Linked DNA regions of Homo sapiens: region 2 is linked to region 1. Evidence: promoter capture Hi-C in human tissues and cell types (Jung and others, 2019). All regions are on one chromosome and are shown on one strand. Each heading gives the region's core, a stretch centred on a gene start or on the middle of the fragment in contact. The rest is flanking DNA. Distances are from core to core; before and after follow the strand shown. Region 1 holds the start of ETFA (electron transfer flavoprotein subunit alpha). Region 2 overlaps HMG20A (high mobility group 20A).

Region 1 (4,660 bases), core at 561-3,060:
GAGGCAGGAAGATTGCTTGATCCCAGGAGTTCGAGACTGCAGTGAGCTGTGATGGCACCACCGCACTCCAGCCTGGGAAACAGAGTGAGACCTTGTCTTAAACAGAACAAAAGAATTGTCACTTGATCTGGGTTTTAAAGAGGGCTGTCAGATGGGGAAGGGAATTTCAGACAGAGGGAAGAGCAAAAGCGCAAGGCCCTTAGAGTGCTTGTTAGTTCAGACAAAGCTCTTGCTTCAGGGAATTTACACTCCAATGCAGTGAGATCAGCAATAAACAAACATGTGCATCCTGTTAGGCAGTGATAAATGCCAAGAAAAAAAATCAAACAAGGTGATAGGGCGTCTGGGAGTGGCATGGGTGCTATTTTAGGTGGAGAGGCTAAGGCCGGCCTTTCTGCAAATGTGTTTTTTGAGCAGAGACCTGAATGAAGTGAGGAAGTACGCCACGCGGGTAACAAGAGAAGGCCATTTCAGGCAGAGGGAAGAGCCAGAGTGCAAAACTCTGAGAGGAGCAGGCTTGTGTGCTCAAGAAGGCCTATGTATCTGGGGAACAGTGAGAGAAGAGGGCAGTGGGAGGAGAGGGAGCCACCATAGGGCTTTGAGCAGAGGTCATGATCAGTCCATCAGTTTGGAGAAGAGGCTTCTGGAAACATGGGCAGAAACAGAAAGACCAGTTAGGAGGCTTTGCAATGATCCAGGCGAGAGAGGACAGGGTCCTGAGTGAAGGTGATACCAGCAGAGGAGCAAAGGGGTGTTGGAGGATATTGCTGGATTCTGGTTATCTTTTGAAGGTAGAGTCAACGGGATTTGTTGATAGACTAGATAACATTGGAAAGGTAGGTTGTTGCTGAATTGGGAATTGAGACAATTTCTGAACATACCACTTCCCTCTTAAAAATTTCGTGTTAAAGTCCAGACTCATTAGCAGTCATTTATTCATTTGCTTATTCATTCAACACATACTGATTGAATGCCTAGTATGGACCAGGCATTGTGCTAGGTGTTGCAGGTAGACACAAAATTTAAAAGTAGGGCATACTGGCCGGGCGCGGTGGCTCACGCCTGTAATCCCAGCACTTTGGGAGTCCGAGGCGGGCGGATCACGAGGTCAGGAGATCGAGACCATCCTGCCTAACACTGTGAAACCCCGTCTCTACTAAAAATACAAAAAAATTAGCTGGGCGTGGTGGCGGGCGCCTGTAGTCCCAGCTACTCGGGAGGCTGAGGCAGAAGAATGGAGTGAACCCGGGAGGCGGAGCTTTCAGTGAGCTGAGCTCGCGCCACTGCACTCCAGCCAGGGTGACAGAGGGAGACTCTCTCTCTCTCAAAAAAAAAAAAAAAAAAAAGGGCATACTTTCTGCCCTTACAGATCTTCAGTCAGATGGGTGACACAGACAAGTACTTAGGTTATTACAACCCATGTGACAATTGCTACCATGGGGAAATACAGGGGGAAATAGGGGCATATAGGAAAGGTATCTAATTGGAATTGGCAAGGCTCCACTCGTACCTTACCCCGAGGTCAGCTCAGTTTTGAAGTTCACTCTAGCAGTGCTGACCATTGCGGGGCTGTGAGACAGTACAGTCTGAGCTCGGTCATCAGCGGGTGGCCAGCTTTGTCTCTGCCGCTCCGCGGCCCGGGCTTACTCGAAGGTCCCCGGGGAATAGCCTCACCTTTGCCCCACTTCCCAGTCTAGCCCCTAACTTCCCGCCGTCTATTGGCTGCGCAGCCGCCCAATGGGCAGGCGGAAACCGCGGGCTCGTGCTCCCGGCCTAGGGCGTCTTATCTCGTTCGCGCGTCTCGCGAGCATTAGGTGACTGGCTGAGGCGGCGCCAGTTGGCCGGGCACGGGGCTGCTGTAAGGCCGAGGTTGCGGCGGAAGCGGAGACCATGTTCCGAGCGGCGGCTCCGGGGCAGCTCCGGCGGGCGGTGAGTCCGGACTGGGAAGGCGAACCCAGGGACGGCCCCCCGTCAACCCGCCGTCCCTATGGGGTCTTGCAAAGATCACTGGCCCCCTCAGATTCGACCAGCCCTCGCGCCCGCAGGCCGGTCCCCGCCTGGGACTTGGGTCCAAAGTTCTGGGGCCTACCCTGGACTCCCTGCGGAACGCCAGTTCGGGGCAGAAGTCAGAGGTTTGGGGTCAGGGTGACCCCGAATGATGTGAATTTGCGCGTCTGCTGCCCCTTCTTCTGGCCCACTCTCTGCCCTGCCGTTTCCCACCTTTGTCGGTCACTCTGGGCACTTTCGGGCCGCCAGGTCCTCCACACTTGCTCCACACCCGAGGGAGCAAAATGTCACCGGGGAATGCCCTGTTGGGGAAAGTTTCAAACCTAGATTCCTCCCGGAGGCCGGCATTTCTGGAAGAATTAAACACTTTGGGCGCATCGTGGCTACTCCGACCCACTCACTGTCAAGGGCGGGGGTGGGGTGGGGTGGGAGGCTGCGTGGCCAGTTATGGAAGCTGGTTCTGCTTTCTGGTTTATGGAGCAGGGCTGAATTTAGGTGATTGTATTTGTAAAACCTGCGATCCGATTTGACAGCTTTAGCCAGTTTTGAAAGGCAGACGTCTTTTTATATGCTTCAGGCTGACCTGCTTTTAACCAGCAGATTGTAGATTAGGTTAACTGGTGACAGTGGTACATTTTCAGTGTTTCATTAGTGACAAACCACATTTCTCTCTTCTGTTGTGAGAAGGACTGATAGGAAACATATTTTCCTTCTCATGCTGTGGGAAAGGAGTATTTGGAGACTGACCAGTCACAAGTCAAGTAACAATAATTTATATTGTGGATTGTGTAGTTTTCCTAGTTTACATTTAGGTGAAATGAGAAACAAGATTGGTAAACTTGGGTCAGAAACTTACCTGATGGTTTGTACCTTTTCTCCTTTTTTTTTTTTTTTTTTTTTTTCTGGGCATGGATATTTTCCCATCCACTCCTGGGATTTTTCTCTCTGAGGCATAGCTGGAGCTCTTTCTAGATGTCTGTAGACATTAGACTTTTGTTTGTTTGTTTGTTTGTTTGTTTAAGAGACAAGGTCTGGCTCTGTTTCCCATGCTGGAGTGGAGTGCAGTGGCACGATATGGGCTCACTGCAACCGTCGCCTCCCAGGTTCAAGCGATTCTCCCACCTCAGCTTCCCGAGAAGCTGGGATCACAGGTGCGCATCATCACGCCTGGCTAATTTTTTTTTTTTTTTTTTTTTTTTTTTTGTAGAGACGGGGTTTCCCCATGTTACCCAGGCTGGTCTCGAACTCTTGTCCTCAAGTGATCCACCTGCCTCGGCCTCCCAAAGTCCTGGAATTACAGGCCTGAGCTACCGCACCTGGCCTTAGACATCTTTTTTCTTGTGCGTATTCCTTGTTTAATAAAAAGTTCTGACCCTCCCCTCCCCTAAAGAGTTCAAACCCATGTCTTTCAGGTTAGTGTCCTGTCTTCCCCTCAGGACATGTTTTCTCCCGGTTGGGGATCTAGACATAAACAAGTGAAAATCATGAATTTGGGGAAATTCCAGGAACCTGAGCCAGAAGAATGCTGCTCTATGCAGCAGTTGGAAAACAGTTTTGTGGACAGATTACAAGTCTGGCCTAAGTGAAATTATAATTGTGGTGGGGGATGGAATTTAGGACTCAGTAATTTTGTAGAGCTAACAGAAAAAAATGGAATGATTAAGTAATTTTTACTATCCACATCGTTGGCTAATGTGTATAGACATTACTTCCAGATATTCATTGTGGTTTGCCAAAGACTTTGACCTTGACTTATTTTTAAAATTTGAAGTCAAGCTAAGTAGAATAGCTGTTTTTTTTGTTTGTTTGTTTGTTTGTTTTGAGACGGAGTCTCGCTCTGTCGCCCAGGCTGGAGTGCAGTGGCGCGATCTCAGCTCACTGCAAGCTCCGCCTCCCGGGTTCACGCCATTCTCCTGCCTCAGCCTCCTGAGTAGCTGGGACTACAGGTACCCGCCACCACGCCCCGCTAATTTTTTTGTATTTTTAGTAGAGACGGGGGTTTCACTGTGTTAGCCGGTATGGTCTCGATCTCCTGACCTCATGATCCGCCCGCCTTGGCCTCCCAAAGTGCTGGGATTACAGGCGTGAGCCACCGCGCCCAGCCTAGAATAGCTGTTTTAAAGTCATTAAGAATGTTGGAGAGATTTGGATTTCTAGCATAAAAGAAATGGTGGCAACACTTCTAAAGTGGACCCATATATTAATAGGGACATATACCTGTATTTAACTTTTTAAATTTTGAAATAGTTGCACTTATAGAAAAGTTGCAAGAATAGTACAAAGAAATCTCAAAACCCTTCCCCTGGTTTTCCCAGCATGTTAGCAGTTTGACACATTTGCTTTATCTTTCCACATATATACATAATACTATCTTTCTGAACCATTTGAAAGTATGTTGCAAATGTGCCCTTTACTCCTAAATAATTGAGTGATATTTTAAAAGAACAAAGAGGTTCACTTTCTAACTACACTGTAATTGGCAATATCTGGAAGTTTCACCATAAAATACTGTTTTCTAATCTATGGATGTTCAATTTTGCCAGTTGTCCCATTAGTACAGTTTATAGCAATTTTCCTTATTCTGGTCTAAGATACTCTAGATGTCCTGCAAGTGGTTTTCATGTCTCTTTACTCTGTTAGAAAGGTTCCTCAG
Region 2 (4,660 bases), core at 1,171-3,670, 1.1 Mb before region 1:
AGTGTATATTTCAGGATTTTTTTTGTACAGTTGACCCTTGAACAACATGGGTTGAACTGCATGAGTCTACTTATATGCTGATTTTCTTCTGCCTCCACCACTTGAGACAGTAAGACCAACCTTTCCTCTTCCTCCTTCTCAGCCTACTCAATGTGAAGATGACAAGGATGAATACCTTTATGATAATCCACTTCCACTTAACGAATAATAAATAGTAAACATATTTTTTCTTCCTTATCATTTTCTTAGTAACATTTTCTTTCTCTAGCTTATTGTAAGAATACAGTACATAGTACATGTAACATATAAAACATGTGTTAATCAACTATTTATGCTATTGGTAAGGCTTCCAGTCAGCAGTAAGCTATTTACGTAGTTAACTTTTTGGGGAGTCAGAAGTTATACATGGATTTTTGACAACACAGGGGTTAGCACCCCGAACCCCCTCATTGTTCAGGTGTCAACTGTATATTAGTATACAAGATATTTTAGTATATAAGGTTATGCAACCACCACCACTATCTAATTCTGGCACATTTTCATCACTTCCAAAGGAAACTCCATACTAGCAGTCACTCCCATTCCCATCCACTAATGTACTTTCTGTCTCTATTAGTTTTGCCTAATCTAGACATCTTAAATAAATGGAATCACATAATAGGTTGCCTTTTGTATGTGACTTCTTTCACTTTAATATTTTCAAGTTTTATCCATGTTACAGCAGGTATTGCTACTTTGTTTCTCTTTGTTGCTGAATAATATTCCATTGTATGGCTATATCGCATTTTGTTTAGTCATCCAATAATTAATGGACATTTGAGTTTGCCTTTTACAAATAAGGCTGCTACAAATATTTGTGTGCAAGTTTTTGTGTGAACATGTTTTAAGTTCTCTTGGATATATACCTAGGAGTGGAAATACAAGTTAAGTGTCCAAATATTTGATATAAAAATCTATTTGGTTTCTGAGTTCAGGTAGCAGAGGGTATCTCTCACAATGCAAACAATTCTATATTAAGCTCTCCATGCCATCCCTACTCAAACACCTACCATCTTCAAAGTCTGCAGATATTAGTAACAATTTACTTTTTTCCAATTAAATTGAGGAGCAGAGATCAGTTCTTACAGCTCCAGTTATATAGGAGGTGCTTAATATATGCTTATCTGACACCCTAAGAAGCTCCCAAATGAGAGAATGATGACTTACTATTCACTCTTTCATTTTATAGATATTTGAGTGTCTAATGTATGATAGCCATTGTGCTGATGCTGGGCATAATTGTGGACAAAAGTTATTGATCAGTTTTGTCATACTCCAAGAGCCAGCTCACGTCCACAAATATTTACTGAATACCTATGATGTGAATGGTCTTGTGCCAGGTATGACAGCACAGAGTGGAATAAGACCTAGTCTGCAGCCTTTTAGGGAAGGCATAAACTCTACCTACAACAACGCAATAAAAACAAACAAGAGGAGCACTGGACAGTAAGTGCTGTAAGAAAGGTATAATGCTCTGGAGAGTTAATGGACAGAACGTGTACAGTTTGGGAGAGTGTAGAAGAGGATGGATATCAGAAAATATTTCTTAAATGTGGTACTTGAGAAACGACCTCAAAGAAAGTGGCATTTTGATAGATGGGGATTCCTAGGAAAAAAGAGTGTTTCAGGCAGAAAATAGCATGAGCAAAAAAAAATATTAATGCTGGGTGCAGTACAGATTTTTTTCCCCCCAGAGGCGATCCCGTTTGGATGTGTAGATGAATAATGTGAGGTATGATCATAGTGTGAAAGGTCATTTTTGGTTTTCGTATTTAAATAAGTTTAGGAGAATGAGTTGAAAGTCTGCCTGTAACAATTCAAATTACCTTAGTGATTTGTGCCAAGATTAAGATTCCTTTTCTTGAAACTTTTCTATTTTGTATATCTTCTAATCATGGAAATTAGTGATTTCTCCTTCCCACAAGGAAAAAAAATTAAATCTTGACAACTGTGTGAGCATGCTGATAGGGGGACAAGGCTGAAGCTCAGTCAGTCTACCACTGCATCCCATACTGTGGGGAAAATGTAAAGCTTAAAACAGACATGTGGGCAAATCACAATAGCCAGAGTAGCAGAAGCAAGATTGGGGGTAAGATAATTGCATTAATGAAGCTTCTGGCACCAGGCATTGGACCAGGAGATTTACATACAACATTCTGATTCCACCAAACAACCCCATTTGGATTTAGGAAAACTGAGGCTTAGGGAGGTCAAATAAATTGCTCATGGTTACCAAGCTAGTAAGCTCAGCCAGTAAAATGCAGAGACCAGTGCTGAATTTGGGCCTATCTGATCCCATATTTTCCCCACTGTTCACTCTCATTTGTTTTCACAATACAAAAGAAGCTAGAATGGTAGGAAAATGATACATGTATCAATGAAAGGGACTGCATATTTAACACAGGGGCTTCTATGGTCTGGAGAAAAATTAGGCTGAAACATTCAAATCTGGGTTTAGAATGGCTTAGAGATTAAGACCAGGAGAGATCAAGTTTAGGGCTGCTTCTTTACCCAGTCTGAACAACGATCATAACATAGATCTTATTTAGGAATACCAAGGGAGCAAAATTCTAGTTTTAATTTGTAAATTAGAGAGTAAACTACAGTAGAATATGAATATTTGGCCGTATTTACTGTATTCAAAGTCCTGAGAACAGTGACTGGCATATAGTAGACACTCTAAACTTTTGCTTAAATAATGAAAAGTCACGTAAAGGGTATTCTCATTTGAATACCTGTGAAGGCTATGAAATAGAGACAGCAAAGCAGTAAGGTGAAAAACCATTCAGGTTCTTAAGATACTTTCTTTAATCCTCAACCCTACGGCAAAAACAACAACAAAAACAAACCACCACCAAAACGACAAACAAGGAAAGCAACAGTTGCAAAACATTAGCCTGATTTTACAAAGTAAAGTAGATGAAAGAATGAAAAGACACTTCTGTATTATGTATAACATCTCTGTGGATAATCTAATTTCAGTCAGATGGAATCCAGAATTGTGACCTACGGTTTTAATATTTCAAACTGCTGTGAGCAGTGTATCCAATGACTGTCTTTGGAAAAGAAAATGGTTATCTAATCCAAGTATTTGAAAAAAAGATTTGACACTTTCTTTGTTACATATATGGCAAGTAATGGAATGAAATCTCAAATTCATTAACTTGAAGTAACAGTACATGTACAAAAATATTAATTCTTTAAATTTTGATACTATATTTCTATTAAACATGCAAAGAAAACTGCACAAAGGGCATTAAGAAAAAAAAACCTTTGGAGGACAGCAAGCCTCTCTAAAGAAACATTTTTAAAAAGAATAAAAACAGGTTCTATGGACCTTCTCTCTCTATTTTTCACAAGCTTTTCTAATATTTCTTCTTTGATGGAACCAATGAATAACTGCCACTTATCACAAAATACCTTCTTTCAGATAGGTATTTTATATATTGCTTTCTTCTAAACAGATAGTTCTTCAAGCTGCTCAAGTCTTTCAGCTGCAACAATTTTTCTTATTTCTATTATACTGTATTTCTTCCATGGAGTACCATAAAGACCAATTTAATAAAGACAGTTTCCAAAAGGCAATATTACTCTATCTCAATCAGTATTTTAACATGATATTCTCTATTTTTTTCATTTAGTTCTACAATCTTTCCATACTTCAATAATTCCTAACACTACAGTTTCATTTGTCAGGGTGACCATATTATATTTTCTTCTATATTACATTAATATAGAAGATAGTGAACACTTCTTCTTTAATCAATTAATTCTTACTTCGGGCAGTCTACATGTTCCTAACCTATTAATAACCACAAAGACAATGTTTTGTCTTGCTTTTTCAGTCAACTACTGCAGCAATCGTGTGGTCTTTCAAAATATAAATCATACTTGATTTTAGGGTCTTAGATTCTTTTTTAAAAGTGACCACAGAAGATTAAAACATGTATTTTTTTTTACTGTAATATTTGGTTTAAAACATATTTTCTAATGAACCCTAACCCAAACAGCTATTTATTTATTTATCTATTTTTGAGACGGAGTCTCACTGTCGCCCAGGCTGGAGTGCAGTGGAGCGATCTTGGCTCACTGCAACCTCCGCCTCCCGGGTTCAAGCAATTCTCCTGCCTCAGCCTCCTGAGTAGCTGGGACTACAGGCGCACGCCACCACGCCCAGCTAATTTTTGTATTTTTAGTAGAGACGGGGTTTCACCATGCTGGCCAGGCTGGTCTCGAACTCCTGACCTCGTGATCTGCCCGCCTAGGCCTCCCAAAGTGCTGTGATTACAGGCGTGACCAAACAGCTTTTTAAAAAAACTATTATAGAATTAAAATAATCGCAGAGTCTGAGGCTAGATTAAGTACAATCCCAAAAGAAAAAGTACACAGGCCTTATTACTTCAAAAATTCTTGCAAGACAATACAGTTCTAGGTTCACTGATATATATACTAAAATTACTAACATTCAGATTTCACAAAGTAAGCTTCAAATAGATTGATTCCTTCAATACACAGACACACACCCTTCTAAGTATTGTGTTATCTGACAACAGAACCAAGGAATCAAAATTATTGAGTGTTTATTACCGCCTCACATATAGTTTATTAAAAATGAGCTACT

Evidence for each region. The method cuts DNA at HindIII sites, captures the fragments that hold promoters and counts their contacts. A contact is called where the count stands out against the background at its distance.
Region 2: a contact is called between a fragment that was not itself captured here and the fragment with the promoter of ETFA in region 1, in 1 of the 25 tissues and cell types used here (spleen).

Annotation. Positions count from the first base shown.
Region 1 is chr15:76,308,619-76,313,278 of GRCh38, reverse strand. ETFA (electron transfer flavoprotein subunit alpha) reads left to right here and starts at 1,810. Exons shown (of 12, transcript NM_000126.4): 1 at 1,810-1,929. The coding sequence starts at 1,891. RefSeq lists enhancers at 1,188-1,237, 1,298-1,347, 1,557-2,057, 2,058-2,558. The HindIII fragment of the contact is 24,969 bases long and covers 1-4,660 here.
Region 2 is chr15:77,422,027-77,426,686 of GRCh38, reverse strand. The region is part of intron 1 of HMG20A (high mobility group 20A); the gene reads right to left. Among named protein-coding and RNA genes, the nearest start is that of HMG20A, 3.5 kb to the right of the region's middle. The HindIII fragment of the contact is 3,083 bases long and covers 879-3,961 here.